Linked DNA regions of Homo sapiens: regions 2, 3, 4, 5, 6 and 7 are each linked to region 1. Evidence: promoter capture Hi-C in human tissues and cell types (Jung and others, 2019). All regions are on one chromosome and are shown on one strand. Each heading gives the region's core, a stretch centred on a gene start or on the middle of the fragment in contact. The rest is flanking DNA. Distances are from core to core; before and after follow the strand shown. Region 1 holds the start of NKX3-2 (NK3 homeobox 2). Region 2 has its middle 610 kb from the start of LINC02270. Region 3 has its middle 570 kb from the start of LINC02270. Region 4 has its middle 410 kb from the start of LINC02270. Region 5 overlaps LOC105374493 (a long non-coding RNA gene). Region 6 has its middle 460 kb from the start of LINC02270. Region 7 has its middle 580 kb from the start of LINC02270.

Region 1 (2,700 bases), core at 173-2,672:
TGAGCCGAGGCCTTAGATGAGAGGATGGACTGGAGAGTAAAGAGGGAGGGTTGCCCCTGCATCGAGTTTTTGGACCCTGATCCCACACCAGCTTCTCGGTCTCGTACCCGCCCTTCCGAAGAACTCCAGCAGAAAGGTCCAGCGGTCCCCTGTGCTTGAGGCCTACAGAAGCTTGTACCCAACTAGGGCAGGCACCCGGGTCTTCCAGACCACAGGACAGGACAGGCCACGGCTGAGGAGGCCTCTCTCCTGCCTCCAGGATGAACTAAAGACCCAATCCGGGATCTTCGGCCTAGGGCTGCTCTCCCAGACCTGGGGTCTGAGAAAGCCAAACCAGCCCTTTCCCCAAAGCTCTAGTTCTGCAGATTCTCAGCTCTGGCCCACTCGGAGGTGTTCTTCACCACCTATCCACCTACTGTGGGGCCCGGCCCTGGGACCTTGAACTGGCAGGTCTCTGGTCCAGAGCTAGGTCACTGGCTACCTGAGGTCTCTGAACCCCTCACTTTTCCGCTTCCCTGATTTTGGGGATTTGGGGACAGACACGGCAGAAAGCACTGGCGACGAACTCAAAAACTCCCGAACGCAAGGGGCAGCGGTTCTCCCAACCCAGTCTAATGCACATTGGCCCAGGATGTCTCAGGCCTCACCCCAGGACGTAGGGCTCTGAGGAGCTACTCCGGTCTCTCGCGGGCTCAGTTCCCGAAGTGATAGAGCAGCTCGCGCCAGAGCGCAGAACTTCGGGATTTGGCCAGCCTCCGAGCCCCAGGGCGCAGGGTGCTCAAGCCGACCACCCCACTCGGCGTGGTTGCCCTCCGCGTCCATCCCCTCAGCCCGGCCCCCATCCCCGCGAAGCCGCAGCAGACCTGAGACGCTGGCGGACATCTCGCTGTCGCTCCGGCCCGCGGCTTCCTCCTCTAGGTCTTTGGAAGCGGCCAGCTCACAGACCGGCTGGCCGAGGCTCAAGGATCCCCCCGCAAGGCCGGCCCCGCTGGCCCCCCGCGCGTCCGCGCAGCGCCGCCTGCTCTCGTTCTCCTCGCTGAGCGCGGAGTCCGAGTCCCAGCCTTCCGGGCTCTCCGCAGTCCGCCCCGCAGCTGTTCTGGTACCGGCAGGAGACGCCAGCAGAGAGTCCTCGGCGCCCCCCAACGCGCCCGCGTCCCTCTCCCCAAAGAGCCGCCAACAGCAGACAGCGGGAGCCGCGGCCACCGATGCCGCTGTGCCCCCGGGCGCCGGGCGCCCCTCTGGCGCGGCCAGCCCGCCGCGCTCCTCTTTCTTGTTGAGGATCGCCTGGATGGAGAAGGACGTCAAGGTGTTGGCGCCGCGCACAGCCATCTGCGCCGCGGGCAGGAGCGGCCGGCGGGGCGGGCAGCTGGGGCGCCGAGCAGCTCCGAGCGGGACAGAGAGCGCCGGCGGCCGCAGCGCGAGTGAGCTGGGTGTGCGAGGCCGCCGCCGCCCACTGCTGCGCGGCCCAGCAGCTCCCGCCCCACTCCGTCCCAGGATCAGCGCCGACCCTCGCCCCCACCTTAGAGGCCCACCCCGCCCGGAGACCCCCTCCCCCCGAATCCAGAGCCAGACGCTCTCCTTTCGCAGCTCAGCTGGATTATCTCATCGCTTCTCGCCCTTAGGGGCGGGCTGGGGTCTGCCCCCTCGGGGGACGTGAAGGAGGATTGGCGGGGGCCCCTCCGTGGCAGCAGTCCCCTCCCGAGCGCCGCCGGGGCGCACAGCCCGAGTCACTTTTTCTTTGCGCGTCTGTCCCTTCCTCGCCTGCAGGATTTCGCTCCTGGCCCGTCCTCCCCTTCCCTGCTGGGCAGGCTCTTCCGGAGCCCACCCCCGGCGGCGGCGGCGGTAGCCGCGGCCGCGGCCGCTGGATTCCGAGAGGCGCGGGGAACTTTTTTACCCCCTGCCCTGGTTTTATCTGTTTCTTTTCTCTTTCCTTCCCTTGCGTTCCACTGTACCACCCCCCTCCCGCCCGGGTGTCATTCCTCACTGCTGAGTGACAGCCTGAGGCCACACCCCTCCACTGGGCTGTCCCGGGCGCTCCCGGCCGTCCATTGGCTGGCTCCAGTTGGGCGACGTTGACTTTAACAGACAAAACTGGGCACGTTGCGCCGCTAAAGACAGGGTCTGACTTAACCCCTTCTCTCCTAAGCCTGGTCCTCGAAGCACCCTCCAGCAACAAGGAGGCTCATCCGACCCAAACCACGTTTCTTACCTCTGCAGATGTATCCACTTATTCCAGCGCTTTAACAGAACACTGATACTAAGTTGAGTCAAATCTGCGGAGAAAATCCAAGATAATGCAGTTCCATAAATCATGCTCGTAGTTTCTGTTCTCTAGGAAGGATTATAAACACGAAGAACAAAATGCATCCTTTTTTTTCTCCCTACAGTTTCGCCGCTTCTTCATTGCTAATGCTCTTTGCTGAAATGATCAGTTAATTAAGATCACTCTAGAAATATTTTTCTTTCCTCGTCGTCTTTGATTTGATTCGATTTTTATAGAGGAATTATAAAAAAATGGTATAGTTAGAACTAAAGTCAGGAGAAGAATTGAAAGGCATCTTTGGGAGAATTTCTGTAAATTTTATGGTCGTTTCCCTGGCAGACCAATATTGAATTTAATTGGAGTTTGTTAAGTTTTGCATCAGGAAGAAAAAAAAAACTTTCAATTTGTTTTTTTTAAATATCTCTTACTTGTGAGTT
Region 2 (2,700 bases), core at 79-2,578, 710 kb before region 1:
AAATGTATGGGTTTCAGTGAAATATATTATCCATTGTTGCTTTATTTCTCTGCTCTCTTTTATAACAAAAGGTCTTAAAAGCATTGCTAATTGCCACTGTCCCCATTTATTCACCTTACATTCTCTCCTCTATAACCTCCAATCAGCACCAATACCTCAATTAGCAAGGTTTCAAATCACCTTTACATTGCAAACTTCTGTGGCTATGACTTTACTTTTAATGAATTTGATCTCATAGCATTATTTGACACAGTTGATGACTCCATCCTTCCTGAAATTGTCTCCTTTATTGGCTTGACTGAAACTCCATGCTTCTGGTTTTTCCCTTTACCTCCCTGAAGCAACCCTTTGCTGATTCCTTTCCCCCTCTGTGACCGTAAACTCATTCTTGGACATTCACCTTTCATCAACATTTACTCTCCCGTTTACCCAGTCTTTTTCCTTAAACCCCATTGGCATAGGAGGAATCTAAAATGTTTCCTTAAGTCCTAAGTTATTTCCAAAATTCATATATACAACTACTGTTTGGTATCTCTATCTGGTTTTCTGATAAGCACCTCAAAATTAACTCAATTCTCTCTTGATTCTCCCTTGGTTTCTCCCTTTCAGTACACCTGCCAGTCTTCTCAGTCTTAGTTGATGGCAGCACCATCTGCCCCATTGCTTAGGCCCAACATCTAGGATCTATCCTGTCTTCTGTAATATCCAATTCATCAGTGTATCAGGTTGACTCTTTTTCTAAAGCATATTTCAAACCTGATTATTTCTCTCAATATTCTCTGGCTGCTTCCTGGTCCAAACCACCATTTTCTCTCACATGAACTGTTGTAATAATCTACAAAATAGTTTTCCTGCTTTTACTCATACCCCACTACATAACCCATTCTCCATATTGTGAGCAGAGCCATTGTATTGTCTGTTTTCATAAAGACATACCTGAGACTAGGCAATTTACAAAAGAAAGAGGTTTAATTGGACTTACAGTTCCATGTGGCTGGGGAAGCCTCACAATCATGGTGGAAGGTAAGCAAGAGCAAGTCACATCTTACGTGGATGGCAGTAAGCAAAGAGAGAGCTTGTGCAGGAAAATTCCCCCTTATAATAACCATCAGATCTCGTGAGGCTTACTGTCATGAGAACAGCATGGGAAAGACCTACCCCCGTGATTCAACTACCTCCCAGCGGGTCCCTCCCACAACACATGAGAATTCCAGATGGGGGACGCAGTGGGGACACAGCCAAACCATATCAGTCCGCCCCCAGCCCCTCCCAAATTTCAAGTCTTCACATTTCAAAACCAATCTTGCCTTCCCAACAGTCCCCCAAAGTTTTAACTCATTTCAGCATTAACTCAAAAGTCCACAGTTCAAAGTCTCATCCAAGACAAGGCAAGTCCCTTCTGCCTATGAGCCTGTAAAATCAAAAGCATGTTAGTTACTTACTAGATATAGGTATTGTACAGGCATTGGGTAAATACAGCCATTCCAAATGGGAGACATTGGACAAAGCAAAGGGGCTACAGGCCCCATGCAAGTCCAAAATCCAGCAGAGCAGTAAAATCTTAAAGCTCTAAAATGATCTCCTTTGACTCCAGGTGTCATATCCAGGTCACACTGATGCAAGAGGTGGGTTCCTATGGTCTTGGGCAGCTCTGTACCTGTGGCTTTGCTGGGTACAGCCTCCCTCCTGGCTGCTTTCACTGGCTTACACTGAGTGTCTGCGGCTTTTCCAGGTGCATGGTGCAAGCTGTCAGTGGATCTACCATCCTGGGGTCTGGAGGACAATAGCCATCTTCTCACAGCTCTACTAGGCAGTGCCCTAGAAGGGACTCTGTGTGGGGGCTCCAACCCAACATTTCCCTTCTGCACTGTCCTAGCAGAGGTTCCCCACGAAAGCCCCACCCCCACAGCAAACTTTTGCCTAGACATCCAGGTGTTTCTGTACATCTTCTGAAGTCTAGGTGGAGGTTCCCAAACCTCAATTCTTGACTTCTGTGCACCGGCAGGCTCAACACCATGTGGAAGCTGCCAATGCTTGGGGCTTCCACCCTCTGAAGCAACAGCCTGAACTGTACCTTAGCCTCTTTTAGTCAGGTTGGAATGGCTGGGACGCAGGGCACAAAGTCCCTAGACTACACACAGCACAAAGACTCTAGGCCTAGCCCACAATACCATTTTCTCCTAGGCCTCTGGGCCTGTGATGGGAGGGGCCACTGTGAAGACCTCTCATATGCCCTGGAGACATTTTCCCCAGTGTCTTGGGGATTAACATTCAGCTCCTCGTTACTTACGCAAATTTCTGCACCTGGCTTCAATTTCTCCTCAGAAAATTGATTTTTCTTTTCAATCACATTGTCAGGCTGCAAATTTTCTGAACTTTTATGCTCTGCTTCCCATATAAAACTGAATGCCTTTAACAGCACCCAAGTCACATCTTGAATGCTTTGCTGCTTAGAAGTTTCTTCTGCCAGATACCCTACATCATCACTCTCAAGTTCAAAGTTCCACAAATCTCTAGGGCAGAAGCAAAATTCTACCAGTATCTTTGCTAAAACATAACTAGAGTCACCTTTGCTCCAGTTCCCAACAATTTCCTCATCTCCATCTGAGAACACCTCAGCCTGGACTTTATTGTCCATATCACTATCAGGCTTTTGGTCCAAGCCATTCAATGAATCTCTAGGAAGTTCCAAACTTTCCC
Region 3 (2,700 bases), core at 57-2,556, 750 kb before region 1:
GGGGTCCCACCCTCACGACCTAATCTAAATCTCATTACCTACTATAGGTCCCATGTATCAGTCAGTGTTCTCCAGAAAAACAGAATAAATAGTAAATAGATAGATAGATGGAGACATACATACATACATACATACATATTATAATATTATAGGAATTGGCTCAAATTATTATGGAGGCCAAAGAGTCCCACCATCTGACCTCTGCAAGCTGAAGAACCAGAAAAGCCAACAATATTATTCAGTGTGAGCCCAAAGGCCTGGGAATCAGGAGAGCTGGTATCTGACGGCAGGAGATGATGTCTCAGATCAAACAGAAACAAATTTGCCCTTTGTTCATCTTTTTATTCTATTCAGACTTCAACAGGTTGGATCACGCCTACTCACATTGGTAAGGGTGATCTTTTTTATTCAGTCTCCAGATTCAAATGCTAATTTTTTCCAGAAACACCCAGAAGTAATCCTTTGGTAGCTATTGGGGTATTCCTTAGTCCAGTCAAGTTGATGCATAAAATTAACTATCACATTTTGCCTCCAAATACTGTCACACTGGGGCTTAGGACTTCAACACATGAATTTTGGAAGGACACAAACATTTTACCCGTTAATACAAATCAGAATTTTTTCAACACTTTTACACTTTTATTTTAGGTTCAGTTGTACATGTGAAGGTTTGTTATTAATATATAGGTAAACTTGTGTCACAAGGTTTTGTTTTACAGTTTATTTCATCATCCAGATATTAAGCCTTGTACCCAATAATTATTTTTCCTGCTACTCTCCCTTCTCCCACCCTCCACCCTAAAGTAGACGCCAGTGTCTGTTGTTCTCTTCTTTGTGTTCATGACTTCTCATCATTTAGCTCCCATGTACAAGTGAGAACATGAATTATTTAGTTTTCTGTTCCCGTGTTAATTTGCTAAGGATGATGACCTCCAGCTCCACCCATGTCCCTGCAAAGGACATAACCTCATTCTTTTTTATGGCTGCATAGTATTCCAAGGTGTATATGCGTCACATTTGCTGTATTCAATCTGTCATTGATGGACATTTAGGTTGATGACATGTCTTTGCTATTGTGAACAGTGCTGCAATGAACATTTGCATGCATGTGTCTTTATGGTAGAATGACTTATATTCCTCATGTTGCAAAGAAAAGAGAACACTTGTACACTGTTGGTAGAATTGTAAATTAGTTGAACCATTGTGGAAAGCGGTATGGTGATTCTTCAAAGAGCTAAAAAAGGAACTACCATTTTACCCATAAAACCAGATTTTATATGGAAAATTTTTTCTGAATTCTTTCTCTTTATCCTCACCATTTTCTCCAAGTGTCCTATGCTCTTTCCAGAAAATCCTGTTTTCAGCTTCTCCAGCCACACTGGCTCTTCTTCCTCACAAAATTCCAGTCTCCTGCAGAGCTCACTTGGCAATGCAGAAGTTAGTCAAAATTTCCCCAAATTGAAATTGCAGAGGAGAGTAGAGGAATTTGGGCCCACACTTTCTGATGCAACAGCATGGCCAGAGGTACCTGAAAGGACTTCTGAGAGACATGAGCCATACAGCAGCTTACCAGAAAAAGAATTTTTTAAAAAAGTCTCAACAGGAAGGCATGTTGAAAGAGACACAGGAGGTAGCAAAAATGTGGCTCAAAAGGAACTTAGAGCAATTAGCATGTTAATTCTTTGGTGAAAAAAATAAACAGATATTGCCCCTCTTTCCTGTTCTCATAGAATTTCAGTCTAGGAGAATAAGCAGACAGTATGTGTGTAATTACACAAATATGCTCTAAGATCCATGAGGACATCGCTTTGTCTATTTTTGCTTACCATTGTGTCCCCCAAACTGGGAACTGTGCCAAGCACGCAGGAACTCAAGAACTATTTATAGACTCAGAGAAGGGAGAGAGGGAGAAGGAATAAAGATGACGCTTGACGATTACTAGGTCATATTTGAGAAGGGGCCCAGGAGGAAGATGAGATATTCACAGGAGCCTCTCATGGTAGATGATATCTGTTCAAACCACTGAGGGAAGAGCATGGCGGGAAGACGGCAGAGACTCGGGCGATGATGGCGAGAGGCTGGAGATGGGGCAGGAGCTGGACCACCTAGGCCTTCTAGGCTCGCTCAAGATTTTTCACTTGGCTGTTCAATACTATGAGTAATTGAGTTTTCCTCCTAAACCTCCATGTGCAATTTTTGGACTAAATTAACTATTAAGTCTTTTTCAGTGTTAGCTTATTATCATCCAATCACTTAAGCAATCTTTCTGAGTCATTCCAGTTTGATTAGAATAAAAGTGCTCCCTATTCACAATAGCAAAGACATGGAATCAACCCAAATACCCATCAATACTAGATAGACTGGATAAAGAAAAAGTGGCACATATACACCATGGAATAATATGCAGCCATAAAAAGGGATGAGATCATGTCCTTTGCAGAGACATGGATGGGTCTGGAAGCCATTATCCTCAGCAAACTAATGCAGGAACAAAGAACCAGGCACTGCATGTTCTCACTTATAAGTGGGAGCTGAACAATGAGAACATATGGACACATGGTGGGGAACAGCACACACTGGGGCCTCTTGTTGGGTGGAGTCGGGGGAGGGAGAGTATTAGGAAAAATACCTAATGCAGGTTGGGCTTAATACATGGGTGATGGGTTGATGGGTGCAGCACACCACCATGGCACATGTTTA
Region 4 (2,763 bases), core at 51-2,550, 910 kb before region 1:
AAAAAAGATGCTAAGACACGAGCTGCTGTGTCCAGGACTTCCCAGAACCAAGGTGATAACTGCAAAGGCAGGAAAGGGTAGCAGTGCCTGCAAGTCAACCAGACTTGCAGCTGTGCAGTCTGTGGTGTACAGCATGGGCACACTGGAAAGAAGTCTTTCCCATCCAGCGATATCGATTTCTTGGGCATTCGTTAAGAACTAGGGCAGTGGTTCTCATGCAGAGGAGATTTTGCCCCGGGGAGATGATTTTGGCCATGATTGAAAACATTTTTGGTTGCCAAAAATAGGGAAGTTGCCACAGATACGGGAGTTGCCACTGGCATCTATTGAATAGGGAACACAGATGCTGTCAAACACCCTATAGTTCCCATAACGAAGATTTATCAGAACCCAAAGGTCCGTAGCCCTTCAGCTAAGGAATCCTGGACTAGGGTGTTGTTTAAAAGCTTCTCAGGGATTCTCAACAGGAGAGAGAAAAGGAACTTCCTTGACATAAAGAGTTGGGGAAAAGTTATATCAGCTAAGCACCTGCCATGTGCCAGGTCTAGCACATGACTTTTCTTAAACCTCACAACCAAGGATAGACATTGTAACTCCATTTTACAAAACAGGAAATAGGACCTCAGAAAGAGAAATTACTACGCAATAAAAAGCTCAATTTAGCTGGGGTTTAAACTCAAATCTGTTAAAGGCGAAAGCGGAGACTAGTTTTTTTTTTCCAGTTTTAAAATGTAAATCGTTTTCATTGATTTTACAATTCTTAACAAGGCAGGAAAATGTCATTATGCTCATGACTAGCTTTAAGCATCAATAAGTTTAGTCTGATTTTACTAGATTTTTATAAATATAAACATTTTGCTATTAGAATTCTTATGTAATCATTAAGATTTTGTTTAACACAGAAATATTAGGCATAGCTTTATTGGGAAGTTGAGATTACAGGTTATTTTCATTAGTGTCTAAATTTTTCTGAACTTTGCAATTTTAAAAATGATTAGCATATGTTAAAATTATAAAGTTGCCAATTAGGTTTATTTTAATGTGATATAAATACACAATTATTTCAAGATACACAGTAAATTGCACAGAGGACATAGACTCATTTATTTGGGGATTATATAGATTTGTTGGCTGTGAAATCTAAAATCAGAGTCCATTTATTATCACATGTAATTATGTGTTACAAGAAGTGGACACAAATTTAAAAAGAAAAACAGGTATGCAATTTATATTTCCAGGGGGCTTTTAAAATATAGTTTTGCCTAAACTGATCAAAATATTTGAGGTGCCTTCTCCTCAAAACTGCCTGTGAAGTTTCTCTGGGTAACCCCACAGCTGACTCTAATTTCATTTTCTCCACAATTATTCTACCCATTATTGGGTGTAATATCCTCCACAACTCCACTCTCACAGCGACTTGCTAGAATTTCTGCATTGTTGTTAGCTGTCTCCCCCGAATTATAAGTCCTATAAGGCCAGGTTTTATGCTTATTCAACTATATATCCCCTTATCACCCAATGCAGCGTCTTGCACATAGTCGGAAGCCAATAGATTCTTGCTTAGATGAAATAATTCTAGCCCTGGGGCCAAGGTGCTAACATTGCCATGATCTCGGAGAAGGAAGTGGTGGGGTATTGCAAATAGCGTCTATGCTTAGCAGGCACATTTATACGTAGGGTTAGTGCCCTCTATTTTTAATTTACTTGATTATTCTACAATATCGACTTTTTTTTTTTCTTAAATAATTCTTTATTTACATCCAAACATCAAAAGTCATTCAAGTTGAAGCCCTTCCCACAAGCATTAAGTTCTGCTCACAAAATGTTCAGGAACATTAAAAATCTCTGACATGAAAAATGTGTTACATCACAAGATTTTAAGATGAACGAAGTAAATAAATATGTAGCTCTGCACTTGTGGAGCAGCGGTAGGCAGACCTGCGAGACGACTCTGGCCCAAAGCTTAAGGCTGCATCATCCGTCAGGTGTGGATGAGATCCATCGAAACAGTGAGCGACGCCTGCCATCTACAGGCCACAATGTGTATTGCCGCATAGGTGCCAGTAGACCTTGAATTTAAGAAGCCTTGGGGGATGATACTCAGCGATGTGATCTCGAAGAGACTGTCCTATGTTGAATTATCATTCAATGTAAAAATATAATCAAATAATTATAACCATTAATAGATAACAGGTGACACTTCCCTTCACACTTTCCTCTGTGTAATTCTTACTTTACAAAATTGAAAATGAAGAGCTTTGTGTGTCTTCCACTTTTATTATCATCATGGTGCTTTGTCCTCCTTCACTTTGTGATTATCTCTGTATACGTCTGCCTTCCCCAGGAGCCAACTAACTCACGCGGTGCAGGGGACCCATATAATTCATCTATGTATACGCTCTTGCCTAGAGCAGGGTTTGACACATGGCAGGTATTCTACAAAGATTTGATGCATGAGTGCTTAAGGGAATGAATAAATAAATGAATAAGTAAATCAATCAAAAACTAATTATTTTCGAGTCACCTTGTTCTAAATTACATATAAATTTATGGAGAAAAACTGTAGTCTAACATAGATATATATGTATGTATACATGTTGAGCACAGTGTCTGCCCCACAGCAGGTTCACAGTAAACATTATCTACATTAGACTATAATGTATGTGTGTGTACATATATCTAAGCATATGTGTTCAGTTGGTTGTTTTAAAACTTCTGCAATAAATCAAGAGATTAATATTTTTTATTAAAATCCTTAAATCT
Region 5 (2,763 bases), core at 228-2,727, 660 kb before region 1:
AGGGACCCAGTAGGAGGTAATTGAATCATTGGGGCAAGTCTTTCCCATGCTGTCCTCACAACAGTAAATAAGTCTCAGGATATCTGATGGTTTTATAAAGGGGAATTCCCCTACACAAGTTCTCTCTTGCCTGCCACCATGTAAGACATGACTTTGTTCCTCCTTCACCTTCATTCATGATTGTGAGGCCTTCCCAGCCATGTGGAACTGTGAGTCAATTAAACCTCTTTCCTTTATAAATTGCCCAGTTTCAAGAATGTCTTTATTAGCAGTGTGAGAATGGACCAATACGAATGGGAATGGAGGAGTAGAAACATTTATCCAGAGAGCTTGGTTAAATATCTAATCTGAATTTTGATTAGGTCTATCAAATTTTTCTTGAGTGTGAACAAAATTCTAGGCATGACTCCTAAAGACAAGGAATTTACAATCCAATAGGGAGAATGAAGTATACTTAGGAAAGCACGTACACATGCACATACACTCACACAGACACACACAGACAGATATGCACAGTAAAAAAAAAAGATGGTGATCAATGATAAGTAATATGAAAAAAAGCAGAAAGAGCAAACGATAGAGAAGTTCAGACAGGGAGACAAATAGGGAGGTTTTTACTATTAACCAGGCAAAAGGTGACGTGAAAGAAGTGATGATGGAGTGAGGTGGAGTGATCTGAGAAATAATTAGAACTTGGATGCCTGGGGAAAGGAATAGAGAAAGGAAGAATGAGAGAGAGGAGTCATGGATGCCACCAGGTTCTGGTTTGGGTACTGAGATAAGGACACAATTGGAGCCACAGCTTGAGGCCAAGGTCCTAGATACAGAGAGAAGATGATGGATTCTGTTTTTGACATCTTAAGCGTGACATGAGTCTGGGACCTCATGTCGTGGATATCTGGGAGCAATTAGACATCTTAGCCTCGAGATTAGAAGGGCAGTTTGGGGTGAAGATGGGACTATGGGACCCCTCAATGAACAAAGAGAGGCTACTGGCTAAAGCTTTAGAAGTCTCACTTTTTCGCAGTCTCTAGGAAGTAACTGTCTATTTTTGTGTACAGATTGGCTCCAAGGAGTGGTTAAGTGAGGGATTGTTAAATGAAATGCTTTGCAAAATGAAAATGCCATAGGAAAGCTGGTGGATCATCCCAATGATAACAGAAGCGGGTATGCACCCCCCATGCTGGAGAGCCACTGTGCCAAGACTGTCTTTCTTTCTGCTTAAATTCGAATCCTCTGAGGCCTCCCATCATCTTGCCTCACATTCTATGAAAGGCTTTTAGCAAATATCAAAGAAATTGCCAAGTTCAGCTATGAGAATCTCATTGAATTGATAAATAGATTCTTGCTTTTTCTTCCAACTGTTCTTTCCCATAAAATACTTAGTTTTATAAGCTAATAAAGATCAAATGTTAATAATAGTGAATCCTAATATCTGTGCTTACCACGTTCTAGGGCTTTTGACATGAATTATCAGATCTAGCCCTTACAAAAACTAAATGAGGTTGAAGTATCAGCTATTGCCACTATAATGCTGTGGAACAAATCACCTCCCAGAACTCGGTGGCTTAAAAGCAGAAGCATTTATTGTCCCAGATCTGTAGGTTGACTAGGCTGTCTCTGTTGCCCTAGGCTGAGCTTCTCTGGGCTGTTCTGCTTCTCACTGTAGGTCCGGGGTCGGCTTGGGCATTTCTTCTGCACATATCTTCAAACTGCATTCCAGGCTGTAGGGATAATACGAACAGGTATCCAGAGAGAATGCTTCTCATGGTAATGGCAGAAGGAAAGAGGTAAAGAGACACTGTGATTCTTCTTAAGGTACAGGCTTAGAACTGGCACCATCTCATGTCTACCCACATGTTCTTTGCCAAAGTGAGCAACACACCCAAGCTTCTGCCCATGTGGCACAAAAGGAAAGAGTAAAGAATTGCAGTTAATCATTTAATCTACCACAACTGGGTATCTTTATTATCCTCTTTTTACAGATACAGAGTTCTGTATATATAGAGGTTAAGCTTAATGCTTTATCCTTCTGTTTATTCATTTTTCTTTTATTAAAAAAACTAATGTTCTGCATAATATTTTCAAACCTGCCAAACCAGAAATTCATGACACCATCTCTGTTTTAAAGAATCCCACAGTGTATGCTGTGGGAGAGACAAACTTGTCGACACATCATTGTGGCACAGAGCAGGGGAATCCACAACAGAAGTCTCTATGAGATGCCGGAGGAGCCCAGGGAAATGGATGACTCACTCTGCCTGGAAGAGTTGGGAAGCCTCCGTGAATGGAAGAGATGATGTCAACACTGGATCTTTAAGGAAGAAGTGGTCATTGTGCAAAAGAAGGCAGATAAATAAGTTATAAGTAGAAGGCAGAATGTGTCCCATGAGAAGGTGTCTAGACAAATGAGCATCCATGAAAGTATATTAAACAGAGGAATGGCATTCTTGCTGCAATGTAGAGCATGAATTAGAAGAAAGGCAATGGAAGAGAGAGGCAGACATCAAGCAAAACCATAATGAAGTGCAGTCTGAATGAAGACACCGACTTTAGCACAGAGGCCTGCACAAGCATGGGAAGCTGCACACATGTATACACACACGTGTATACACACACGTGTATACACACACACGGGGAAAAAGTCTCAGCATAGATATTTTTAGAAGAGAAAAAAGAACATGGAAGCAATTTCAGCCACTTTCTTTAATTGCTCACCTGATGGTCCTGTGGGATAGGATTTCAGCTAGGGTGTCACACACA
Region 6 (2,700 bases), core at 82-2,581, 860 kb before region 1:
AAATTTAGCTGGGCATGGTAGTGCACACCTGTAATCCCAGCTCCTTGGAGGGCTAAGGCTGGAGGATCACTGAGCCCAGGAATTCAAAGCAGCAGTGAGCTACAATTCCAGCCTGGGTGACAAAGCAAGAGCCCTGCCTCTAAAAAATAATAATAATAAAATAGATGATATTTTCATCACTATTTCCCTTATATCCCTGGTGATCCAGTAAATGTTTAGCAATTGCTCTACGGGAGGGAAAAAAGGATGATTTACAGAATTTGAAGATTTATTTGGTGTAAATTTCTCCACCATGGTTGATTTCAACTTACTAGCAAAAAGTTATTGACCATAGGGCCGGGCGCAATGGCTCACACCTATAATCCCAGCACTTTGGGAGGCTGAAGCAGGCGGAGGTCAGGAGTTCAAGACCAGCCTGACCAATATGGTGAAATCCCATCTCTACTAACAATACAAAAATTAGCAGGGTGTGGTGGCGTGTGCCTGTGATTCCAGCTACTTGGGAGGCTGAGACAGGAGAATTGCTTGAACCCGGGAAGCAGAGGTTGAAGTAAGCTGAGATTGTACTACTGCAATCCAGCCATTAGCCGGGTGTGGTGGCATGCTCCTGTAGTCCCAGCTACTCCGGAGGCAGAGGCAGGATAACGGCATGAACCTGGAAGGCGGAGCTTGCAGTGAGCTGAGATTGCACCACCTCACTCTAGCCTGGGGGACAGAGTGAGACTCCATCTCAAAAAAAAAAAAAAAAAAAAAAGAAAACTAATATATCTATTAGATTTTTATATTACTTGTCTTGGGGTAGAGGGGTGTGTGTGTATGTGAACCCATTTTTCAACAAATTCTACTCCTCTCATGCATTTTTATGATAGTAGGTATTGTTTGTGTTTGTAAAAACCAAGGTAGAGGCTGAGTTGACACTCTTCTCACATGCAGTACCAGAGACTGCATGAAAAAAGAGACAGTATAGAGAAAGAAGAGGATGGCATAGAAATAACCATGTCACATAGTTATTTCTACACAGAAATTATTTCTACAGTTATCTACACAGACCCAAATGCTCTGATTTTTCTAGCAATTCTCAAGCTTCCTTTACCTTGAGAGCACAGGTGTTATTATCTCAATCTCAAGGGGCAGAGAGAATCTAGTGGACACCTAAGTACACGCATGGTGTGGTTTGAATGTGTCCCCCAAAATGTAATATGTTGGAAACATATGAACTTTTTTTTCTTCTTTTTTGGGGTATGCTGATTTCATATTCCCCTACCACAGGCTGGCTTTTCCATATAGCAAGGCATATGTGGTCATAAACAACTTCCAGGCTCACACTGACATGATGTCATTATATCAATGGAAATGTCTCTTCTCTTGTAGCTCCAGTATGAAAAACTCTTGGAAAGAATTCTTACTGACCTGCCCTGAATCAGATAGGTAACAGTATTGAGATGTGGGACATGTAACAGGGGGAATGAATTAATGTCATTATTTCAGGAGTGAGTAAATTCTATAAGGAGTAATTTAGTTCTCTTGCGAGTAAATTCATTCTCTTAAGAGTGGATTGTTATAAAAGCAAGCTTTGTTTGGTCTTACAGTCTCTTTCACATGTGTACAGTTGCCCTTCCACTTTTCTGCCATGTTATGACACAGTACAAATGTCCTAGCCAGAAGCTGCCACCATGTCCATGGATGTTCCAGCCTCCAGAACCATGAGCTAAATAAAGTTACAGTCTTTATAAATTACCTAGCCTAAAGCATTCTGTTACAGTAACAGAAAATGGACTAAGATAACACAACTGCAATTTACATTTCATCTTGCAACCATTGGAAGCCACTGGATGCTCTCAACATAGGAAATAGATCTGATCAGATTTGCATTCTAAAAATTCTGTTATTCTGAAATATTCTCCATTATAGTATGATTGACCATGATGGACGATTGTCTGAACAGGAGCAAAACAATGAGGATGAATACAAGTTAGGAGATTTTTGCAAGAAATTATGGGCAAGATCTTTTAAGAAACAAAATCAGAACAGTAGACTGGGCATGGTGGCTCATGACTGTAATCCCAGTACTTTGGGAGGCCGAGGCAGGTGGATCACTTGAGTCCAGGAGTTCAAGACCAGCATGGGCAACATACTGAAACCCCGTTTCTACTAAAAATACAAAAATTAGCCAGGTGTGGTGGTGCATGCCTGTCATCCCAGCTACTTGAGATCATGCCACTGCACTCAAGCCTGGGTGATAGAGCCAGACCCTATCTAAAAAAAAAAAAATAATAATAATAATAATTAGAACTGTGATAGTAAAAATGCATAGCAGAGATAGAATTCAAGATAGTAGTTAGTAGATAGAATATGTGGATTTTGATAACTACTGTCTTTCTACCATAAGGCTTCAGGTTAATCAGTCATCTTAGCCTGTGATCAACTGCTTCCTTTATTATGTTATCTTCAGTAAAAGGACTTCCAAAACTCATTAGAAAAGCAGAAAGCTGGAGTGAAAATAACATAGACTTTGAAATGATACAGGTGATTTAACCTAATTTTCCTCATATATAAATGGAATAAATATCTATCTTGTAGAAATTTCACAAATATAGCAGAAATTACCTTCAAGTACCTGGTATATTTAATCAGTATTTCTGGTTGCAATAGAGAGCAACACAATTCAAACAAATTGACAAGAGGATTTATTAGAAGGAT
Region 7 (2,752 bases), core at 223-2,722, 740 kb before region 1:
GGAAGGAAGGTGTCAGCATCTGCTTCTGGTGAGGGCTTCAGAAAGCTTGCAATCATGGTGGAAGGCGAGGGGGGAGCAAAAGAGGGAGTGAGAGACGGGGGAGGTGGCACACCCTTTTAAACAACCATATCTTGCATTAACTCAGAGGAATAACTCACTCATTGCTATGAGGAAGGCACCAAACCATTCATGAGGGATCTGCTCCCATAATCCAAATACCTCCTACTAGGCCCCACTTCTGACAATGGGGATTACATTTCAACATAAGATATGGAGGGGACAAATATCCAAAAACCATATCAGCTATAAACTCAGCAATGGAACTAGTGCGTTGAATGATAGTTCTCCTTTAAGTTCTTTGAGAAATCTCCAAACTGCTTTCCACAGTGGCTGAGCTAATTTGCATTTCCACCAACAGTGTATAAGCTTTCCCTTTTCTCTACAGCCTCGCCAGCATTTGTTGTTTTTTGACCTTACGGTAATGGCCATTCTGACTGGTATGAGATACTATCTATCTCATTATGGTTTTAATTTGCATTTATCTAATGATTACTAATGTTGGGTATTTGTTTCTATGTTTGCTTGCCATGTGTATGTCTTCCTTGGGGAAGTGTCTGTTCATGTCCTTTGCCCACTTTTTAATGGGATTATTTGGTTTTTTTGCTTGTTAATTCGTGTAAGTTTCTTATAGATGCTGGATATCAGTCCTTTGTTCGATGCATAGTTCGCAAATATTTTCTCCCATTCTATTGGTTGTTTGTTTACTCTGTTGATAGTTTCTCTTGCTCTACAGAAGTTCTTTAGTTTAATTAGTTCCCCCTTGTCCATTTTTGTTTTTGCTACAATTGCTTTTGAGGAAAGAATAATAAACACTTACTATATTTTTCAGGAACTATGTACTCATTGGCTCCATCCCTATTTCTCAGACTGAGAATTCTTGCAAGGGCTTGTCTTGTTTCTTCTGTCATCCATGAGGGGTGTGGTACCTGACACATAGCTAGTGTATAGTAATCGAGTTTTGAAGGAATGAATAAGTGAGTGAGTTTTATAGACTCCCAGAGCTAGTAGTGACTCCATTTGACTGAAAAGAAAATCAAAGCTCTGAGATGTGTAGAGGTTTGCCAGCAAATTATAGTTACTTAGTGGTAGGAACAAGTCAAGAGTTCAGGTCCCCTGCCATCCAACCCCACATAATCTGCTCAATCTTACCATATGTTTGAAATTTTAGAAGTGAAAGCTTTTACTTTTTTCTTCTACTTTTTGTAAGTAGTGCTAAATGATTAAGAAAAAGAGAGGGAAATATAATTTAAACTGCCTGTGATGAAAATAAATTAGTAGGAGGCATCCTGAAAGTCCAGTAACTAATATCCATCCACAGCAGCAGGCATATGTTTTTCCTGGCATACTTTCACTCTGAAGGTAAGCAAACACGTAAGTTGGTATTTCATTACTTTAAGCATTTTTATTAAGATGTTTTGTATATGTCAGTGGTGTAGGAAGAGAGAAAGATTAAAAAGAAATTTCTTGTTACAACATATTTTGAAACGTTCTGTATTTCTACAACATAGTTTATTTTTGGTTCTTTTTCTCAGCATGCAATCTTGACAATTTGGAGATAGAAAAATCTCTAACAGACAAGACCAATTTGACAAAAATTCTTCTGTACTTAGAGTATCTGACACAGGCTGCCTACATTTGAATACTAGAGCTTCACTTCCTTATAGCTCTGTAATGTTGGAAAGTAAAAAAGCATTTGGGATCCATATTTTCTCATCTGAAAATGTACTGTTAAATTAAAAAAAATCTCTACCACCTACTTCATCAGCGTGTCAAAATACTCAAAAATGTTACACAAGATAATATATGTAAATCATTTGGCACATTGCCTGACACATTTTAAATACTCTTATCATTTAGCTATTGTTGGAACAAACTGCCTTAAGACTCAGTGTGTTAAAACAATAGAAACCTAAAAAGTTCTGAGCTCATAGAAGTACAGAGTAAAATAATTGTTAACAAGGGTTGGGGTAGTTTGGATGAGGGGAGAGTTCAGGAGATGCTGATTAAAGAATACAAAATTACAGTTAGGTAGAAGGAATAAGTTCAAGAGATCTATTGTACAACATGGTAACTATAGTTAACAATATATTGTATTATTGAAGAATGTGAAGAATGAATGTAGAGTGTTCTCATCACAAAAATAATAACTATGTGAGATAATGCATATGTTAATTAGCTAGATTTAGCTATTACATAATGTCTACATACTTCAAAACATTATGTTGTACATGGCAAATACGTACAATGTTACCTGCCAATCAAAGAAAAAGAAAGAAGGAAGGAAAGAAAGAAAGAAAGAAAGAAAGAAAGAAAGAAAGAAAGAAAGAAAGAAAGAAAGAAAGTTTTTTTTTTTTTCTTGTAAGTTTGTGTAAGTTATTTGTAGATTCCGGATATTAGTGCTTTGTCAGATGGATAGATTGCAAAAATTTTCTCCCATTCTGTAGGTTGCCTGTTCTCTCTGATGATGTTTCTTTTGCTGTGCATAAGCTCTTTAGTTTAATTAGATTCCATCTGTCAATTTTGGCTTTTGTTGCCGTTGCTTTTGGTGTTTTACTCATTAAGTCTTTGCCCATACCTATGTCCTGAATGGTATTGCCTAGGTTTTCTTCTAGAATTTTTATGGTTTAAGTCCTTCTTTAATCCATCTTGAGTTAATTTTTGTATCAGGTGTAAGGAAGGGATCGAGTTTCAG

What was found. The method cuts DNA at HindIII sites, captures the fragments that hold promoters and counts their contacts. A contact is called where the count stands out against the background at its distance.
Region 2: a fragment that was not itself captured here is called in contact with the fragment with the promoter of NKX3-2 in region 1 in 2 of the 25 tissues and cell types used here (lymphoblastoid cells and neural progenitor cells).
Region 3: a contact is called between a fragment that was not itself captured here and the fragment with the promoter of NKX3-2 in region 1, in 4 of the 25 tissues and cell types used here (aorta, lymphoblastoid cells, mesendoderm cells and 1 more).
Region 4: a contact is called between a fragment that was not itself captured here and the fragment with the promoter of NKX3-2 in region 1, in 1 of the 25 tissues and cell types used here (lymphoblastoid cells).
Region 5: a fragment that was not itself captured here is called in contact with the fragment with the promoter of NKX3-2 in region 1 in 4 of the 25 tissues and cell types used here (H1 embryonic stem cells, dorsolateral prefrontal cortex, heart right ventricle and 1 more).
Region 6: a fragment that was not itself captured here is called in contact with the fragment with the promoter of NKX3-2 in region 1 in 2 of the 25 tissues and cell types used here (dorsolateral prefrontal cortex and lymphoblastoid cells).
Region 7: a contact is called between a fragment that was not itself captured here and the fragment with the promoter of NKX3-2 in region 1, in 4 of the 25 tissues and cell types used here (H1 embryonic stem cells, dorsolateral prefrontal cortex, lymphoblastoid cells and 1 more).

The regions. Positions count from the first base shown.
Region 1 is chr4:13,543,086-13,545,785 of GRCh38, forward strand. NKX3-2 (NK3 homeobox 2) reads right to left here and starts at 1,423. Exons shown (of 2, transcript NM_001189.4): 1 at 864-1,423. The coding sequence starts at 1,329. The HindIII fragment of the contact is 14,287 bases long and covers 1-2,700 here.
Region 2 is chr4:12,830,374-12,833,073 of GRCh38, forward strand. No RefSeq gene overlaps it. Among named protein-coding and RNA genes, the nearest start is that of LINC02270, 610 kb to the left of the region's middle. The HindIII fragment of the contact is 5,364 bases long and covers 1-2,700 here.
Region 3 is chr4:12,789,899-12,792,598 of GRCh38, forward strand. No RefSeq gene overlaps it. Among named protein-coding and RNA genes, the nearest start is that of LINC02270, 570 kb to the left of the region's middle. The HindIII fragment of the contact is 5,373 bases long and covers 1-2,700 here.
Region 4 is chr4:12,631,229-12,633,991 of GRCh38, forward strand. No RefSeq gene overlaps it. Among named protein-coding and RNA genes, the nearest start is that of LINC02270, 410 kb to the left of the region's middle. RefSeq lists an enhancer at 2,076-2,135. The HindIII fragment of the contact is 4,665 bases long and covers 1-2,763 here.
Region 5 is chr4:12,887,000-12,889,762 of GRCh38, forward strand. It overlaps LOC105374493 (a long non-coding RNA gene), which reads right to left. Exons shown (of 3, transcript XR_007058047.1): 2 at 2,719-2,763. Among named protein-coding and RNA genes, the nearest start is that of RAB28, 600 kb to the right of the region's middle. The HindIII fragment of the contact is 4,723 bases long and covers 1-2,763 here.
Region 6 is chr4:12,686,653-12,689,352 of GRCh38, forward strand. No RefSeq gene overlaps it. Among named protein-coding and RNA genes, the nearest start is that of LINC02270, 460 kb to the left of the region's middle. The HindIII fragment of the contact is 4,651 bases long and covers 1-2,700 here.
Region 7 is chr4:12,806,867-12,809,618 of GRCh38, forward strand. No RefSeq gene overlaps it. Among named protein-coding and RNA genes, the nearest start is that of LINC02270, 580 kb to the left of the region's middle. The HindIII fragment of the contact is 4,363 bases long and covers 1-2,752 here.